Regions from separate parts of the Homo sapiens genome. Here region 2 is linked to region 1. The links are contacts of gene promoters, found by promoter capture Hi-C in human tissues and cell types (Jung and others, 2019). All regions are on one chromosome and are shown on one strand. Each heading gives the region's core, a stretch centred on a gene start or on the middle of the fragment in contact. The rest is flanking DNA. Distances are from core to core; before and after follow the strand shown.

Region 1 (3,003 bases), core at 444-2,943:
TTTGGCAAAAGTATAGACATGCTTCTTTGACAAACATGTCTATACTTACTGACAAAGTCATAAGTAACAATCTGTAAGATCAATCTGATCATTACATTTTAAAGAGCATATTTCATAATTACTTCCTATTTTATGGGAGAGTTCCTCCAAGAATATCCAGCAAGGATGCACCATTCCTCCAGAATATTCCACCATTTATTTACCAAATCTTTTTTGTCTGTTACATTCTAGGCACTGTGTTATTCACAACAGTAAACAAGAAAAGCCCCACCCACATAAAATATGTGGGAAGTGCTGTCAGAGGAAAGGCCGTGATGAGAGCTCGCTGAAGTAGGCTTGCAGATTTAGTAAACAAAAATTTTTATTTTTTTAAATTTAGCAAATAAACATATGGATACCAAATATTCCATTGGACAGATTAAAAATTATTTGCTTTTTATCTGAACTTCAAATTTAACTGAGCGTCCTGTTTTTATCTGGCAAACCTACAGGGAAGGGAATACTTGGAAGTGGAGGGAGGGTGAATGGAGATAATTTTGGAAGCCTTCCTTTAGAAAGGAATTTCTAAAAATGAATGCTAGGCATAGCGGAGAAGCAGGGAGGAAACACAGCAATGCAAACTGACTTCCCAGTAGCCACTGTAGAGTTCAGGAACTGAAAGAAGCAAAGGGAATGGGGTAAGGAAGAAGAAATGTGGGTATAATGTCGAGAGATGAAGGTTGAGGGAAAAGTAGGTGCCTTATTTTTCAGGTTCGATAAGGAGTTTGTACTGTATCACCAGTGGTGAGATTCCACTAAAAAACTTTAAGCAGCTCATTTTGGCTACAACGTGAAGAATGAACTACAGTCCGGCAGACAGGATGTTGGGAGACCAGCTAGGAGGCTACTGATGGAATTCAGGTGAGTCCACAGAGGCCTGGACAGAGGCAGCGGGAAGAAAGGTGCACTAATCACAAACACCTGAACGTGAGACGGCAGAAAATAAGCAACTGCAAACTTGAATATAGAGGAGGACTGGGAGAGAAGAAAGCAGAAGCACATATTTGGGGAAACAGTGAAGAATGGTAAAAAAAAAAAAAAAAAAAAAAAAAAATTCAAATGTCTTCTGGGAAGTATATAGTATGATAAGGACTAAGAAGTGACTCCTAGATTTAGCCATAAGGAAGTCACCAGCGACCTTTGGCACGGGCAGCCTTAGAGGAATGGCTGAGGCCAATTAGGTCGCAGCTGGTCGAGGAGAAGGTGATGCTGGCCTAAGAACCCGACTGGAGCAGCACAAGTTTCCTACTTCTTCTTTGCCCTTTTAACAGGTGAGGGTCAAGGACAAGAGACGAGTTTGGAGATGCAGCGGCCAGTGCCCCAATCAGTTGGAACAGCGCAGCAAGCGGATCTCTAGGGGCCAATCCCTTCCTAGAGTCCACTTGACTGACAGAGCTGCGCGCCACAGACGGGGCACAGACAGGGAGGTGAATCACGAGGGGGCGGAATTCCAGGGCACTAACCCGGAACCGGTTTGGGACTTGATTCCCATTGTGAGGCCAGGCCTAGGGCGGGCTCTCAGCCAGAATGGCTACACCATTCTAACCAATGGATGAGACTCATCAAATGAGCGGCAGCCATATGAGCCATTGGGGTGGCGGGAGATGGGCGGGCCCAGTTAGTGGGCGGGGGATCAATGAAGCATCTTTTTTCCTACCCCCCTTGGGGCGACCGTGGGGAGGTGCCGCCGGGGTCGCAGGTGAGCGGTTCTATGCTGGAGGAGGCGGCCAGGGAAGCGGCGGCTCCGTGACCAGTGGGTGCCCTCGCAGTGGGTAGGGTCCCGGAGGGGTCAGCGGCAATTGGCGCAACGCTTGCTGCCGGGTTTGGTCCAAGGGCTGCGACGTAGCGGGACTGCACGCTCGGGAGAAGTGCCACGCGCGTCTGTCGCCTGACCGGGGAGGCTGGGGAGGGCCCAGGCCACGGAAACAAGACTGCAGAAGTTTCTGGGCACTCAGTCGGGACTCTCATTTAATACCCAGAGAGAGGAGATCTTCCAGGTTGCCCCGACTCCCACCGGGACTCCTACCAGCAGCAACCTCATCATTGTGGCCGAGGCAGGTGCGCGCCCCTGCTCCCCTGGGTGGCCTTCCGGGAGCCCAGTCTAACTCGATTCTTCCCAGGGGCTCTTTTTGGACGGTCCCAAAGGAGGCAGCGGGAGGGAGGTGAAAGATACTTTGATAACCGTCGACCCATAAGTATACTTGTTATGCACCTACCACGAGTTTTAGAGAAGAACATACTTTTTGGCAGGGAAGTGAATCCCCTATAAGAATATAGGGGAGGGGAAAGCCACACTTTAAAGAGAATTTGGGTAGGGTTTGATATTGTAGATTTGTGATGCTTTTCTTCTTGAACTGCTTAACTAATTTACCCTCAAATTTTTTTGATCCGGAACTTGCCGTCTGGTTTTTCTCAGACTTCTTAATTCTGACTTATCATGAAGTATCTAGGAACTTCATTCTCAAGTTTTAGTGCTTGTAAAAAGTTGCCTGGTTATATTATGCCATTGGCAGTACATCATCTTCACAAGGATTACGTAAGTGAACTACATCTCATTCCTGTTTCCAACTAGTGAAGAACGATTGTGAAATGGGATTTTAGAAAATGGCTGTTCTCTGTGATTGGGCATAGAAGGTTTGTAAGTTTTAGAGACTGCAGCTGTTGAATCCTTTCTGCTAAGAGAGCGATGACAGGCAATAGAAAAGGGATAGTGTTTGACATCTAAAATGACATATTTTCACATTTTATGAGGTGTTATATCCCCAGCACCAAAAATAGTGCCTTTCACACAGTAGGAGCTCAGTAAGTATTTTTTGAGGAAATTATTGGGGAATGAATGGATGGTAGAAAACCCAAGCTTCTGTTACTTGGATACCGGCATATAAAGGAGAGGACAGGAAGACAAACATTTCTGGAAATGGCTTTTATCCAGGTAAGCATATCTACAGAACTTCAACAACTCAA
Region 2 (3,217 bases), core at 74-2,573, 70 kb after region 1:
TGCGTATTCCATATAACAAGATGAAATAGGTAGAGAGAAGCAAATATCATGTAGGATTTACTTTTGTAGTTTAATTAATGACATCTTCCAGATAAAGGTGAATGGAGCAAGTAAGCAAAAAAGCTGAGAATTTACAACAACCCCAGAACTCTGTGTAAAGTCAATTAATGACCTACTGAGAAAAAATGACTATTTTATTAATCAAGAAAACACAAAAAGTAAATAAGAATCAATAGGCTGTCAAATGATGAAGAGTGAAGAACTAAATATGTCTAATTTTAAGGAAAGGCTTTTGCATTCGCAATTCTACCCTTTATCAACTATTTAGCCTCGAAGAGTAGCCAGTTTTCAGCATTATCAATGCTCCACTAAGTTTTCAATTTAACTTGTAGCTGTGTTATTACTTTTCTTCCCAAATTATTCATTCCAGTAGACAAGCACAAGGCTCTTTTTGCTTCATTGGATTTGTGCACTCATTTCCAAAGGCAGAATTTGGGCTAGATTGCTCTACATATATATGCAAAAAGTTTTTAGAAAAGATATTGAATTTTTACTCCAGTTTGCCTATGCGATGACAAGTAAGATTTGCATTAAATGGTACTATTGATCAGGAATTTAATATTAAAATAAGGAGAGAAAAATTTTTGTAAGTGGAAAGACAATTCAGACCCAGCATGATTTGCAATGAGCACTTGAAAACTACTTTGATAAGGAAGGATTTAGTGTCTTTGGTTTGGGTTTTAGATGACATATATGTAATTAAGTTAGTGTGGAAACCTTTGTATTTCATATTCCAAGTTGAGTCAAGGAGAGCTGAACAAGTTACACAGATACTTGTCTGGATTCCAGCAATTGTCTCTAAATTGCATGTTCATTGGAATTTGCATGATTAATTTCTAGTTGAGACATGGATCTGAGGAATGTTATTCCTTGAAGGAGCTTTGTGATTTTTGTTAGGATATCTCCCAGGAACTTAGCCAGAGCATTAGCTAGGGAGTTTGATCAATGAAAATTTTAATTACATTTTTAGTGTTGAGTATTTTTTAGGTAATATTTACAAATATTTCATGAAACTTAGCTTCATGATTTTGTCAATTTTAGGTCACAGAGTAGAATTTTTTTACCTACTTTGGGTCATGGTTCTCTTTTAGAATTCAATGAAAGTACAAATACTTTCTCAGGAAGAAATGCAAAAACTTACAAAACCCCAGACTTATACATAATTTCAGGGGTTCACAGACCTTGGAAGGGCAACTTGAACACAGATTAAAAATATATCTGTTCTAAATTCGAATAACATTTATTTTAAAAATAGTGATGACTTCTAAGTCTGTCTATTAAAGGTAAGCGAAATAAAAACATTTCTATGACACCTGGTGGCTCAGAATGTTAATAGAGCAGAGGTTTTAAGACTGATTTATTGAGAAGGGATTTCCAAAGTACTAGCCTCAATCTGTGATCATTGTACAGTTGCATCATATGCAGAACATTTTAATTTTTTATTATTTTTATTTTTTGAGACAGGGTCTCACTCTGTTGCCCAGGCTGGAGTGAAGTGGCATGATCATGGCTCACTGCAGCCCTGACCTCCCGAGGCTCAGGTGATCCTCCCACCTCAGCCTCCTGAGTAGCTAAGATTGACTGCAAGTGCACACCACCATACCCAGCTAATTTTTGTATATTTTGTAGAAATGTGGTTTTGCCATGTTGCCCATGCTGGTCTCGAACTCCTGGGCTGAAGCGATCCACCTGCCTGGGATTACAAGTGTGAGCCACCATACCCACTCCCATTTTTAAATACTGAATGTGAAACCAATAAAAATTTAAAAAAAAATGTGAAAAGATGCCTTCAGTTATATAATATTGAGAAAATATCAACTATTCATATTTCATACCACACATTTTATTTATTTGTGGTGGCCTTGGGGTGTTTGAGACTATACTCAGTAAAGTCCCTGCCTCAGGCCATTCCCTTGTTGTTATCACTGTGCTCAAATTATACATATGAAAGCTTTGTTTCAAATGAGACCATGCCTAGCTAGTGAAGTTCTTCAAGTTATCTCTGAATAGCATTCATTTTTCAAGTTGTGGTTATTATTATTCTAAAGTAAATTTGCTTTAAAGTAGGTAAAATATAATTTTAAAATATAAGAACTGGTCTCTGTTACATAAACAGCATGTGAGCTGTTCAACAGTACTGTGTCTTTCATGCAGATGCCCTGCCTGGACCAGGATTTGCTGTGTGGACTCCCCCACTGTCTCTTACTCTTGATTTCTTCATCTCCTTATGTGATTTCCAGAATTCCATTCCATGGTCCACAGATCATCTTTACTTTTCCCATTCTTTGCTGACTCCTAAAAACTTTCATCAATTGCTTTAAAGACTTAGAATCCCAGAATTTTTGAATCAAAATGTAGGTTAGAGGTTATGCCCATCCTTCTTATTAGGCCCTAGGATGCAGTCCCTGGGGCCTAATGAAAGTTAGGTGACTTGTCCATCAAAGTCCAGCTGGGGCACAGGTCTTCTGCCTTCTGGTCCAGTGTTCTTCCTACAGTACCAGGATACCTTTGGTTTCCTATCATGACTCTTCCCTGTATAGCTAAACTATATATTCATCCTTCTATGGCTCTCTGTGGGAAATTTTCTTTTTCCTGGGAAGTTTGTCAGGCTTGGTAGGGTCTATGCCTGATTAAGTTTTGGAAGCCATTGTAAGATGGCAATTTCAGTTCTCTCAGGCTAAATACTCCTTGAGCTGAGAAAAAACTTGAAAGGCAGGTGGTCTTGTCAACTGAACAGATACAGCCTAAATACCCAAGAAGGAAGGGTAGTAGATAATTTTCTTTGAAAAGCATTACCAATATCTATATGAAATGACTTGATTTAACTAGATGGTAAGATTTTCTTCCAAAGTTAAAATGTCTTTTTTTTCATACATACAAAGTTCTTATTGATTTAAGTTCTAATCTTTTGAGACATGTAATCTTGGGTCCCAAGAACAGTACCATATAGAAGCTTCAGTATAATGAATTAGGAGATTTTACACAGAAGAAATAGGACTGTAAAAATGAATACCAAAATAACAAGGCCCAACCACAAAAACTCAGTCTCATCTTTGAATTTTCATTTCCCTTCCTTTCCTCTAGCCAATTATCCATTAAGAACTGTTTTTATGACAAGTGACTCTCATATTTATATTTTCATTTCTATTAAACTGGC

The links. The method cuts DNA at HindIII sites, captures the fragments that hold promoters and counts their contacts. A contact is called where the count stands out against the background at its distance.
Region 2: a contact is called between a fragment that was not itself captured here and the fragment with the promoter of MSANTD4 in region 1, in 2 of the 25 tissues and cell types used here (H1 embryonic stem cells and hippocampus).

The regions. Positions count from the first base shown.
Region 1 is chr11:106,020,930-106,023,932 of GRCh38, reverse strand. It overlaps MSANTD4 (Myb/SANT DNA binding domain containing 4 with coiled-coils), which reads left to right and starts at 1,693. Exons shown (of 3, transcript NM_032424.3): 1 at 1,693-2,971. RefSeq lists enhancers at 1,152-1,221, 2,052-2,171 and a silencer at 1,612-1,721. The HindIII fragment of the contact is 5,723 bases long and covers 1-3,003 here.
Region 2 is chr11:105,950,263-105,953,479 of GRCh38, reverse strand. The region is part of intron 14 of GRIA4 (glutamate ionotropic receptor AMPA type subunit 4); the gene reads right to left. Among named protein-coding and RNA genes, the nearest start is that of MSANTD4, 70 kb to the left of the region's middle. The HindIII fragment of the contact is 3,763 bases long and covers 1-3,204 here.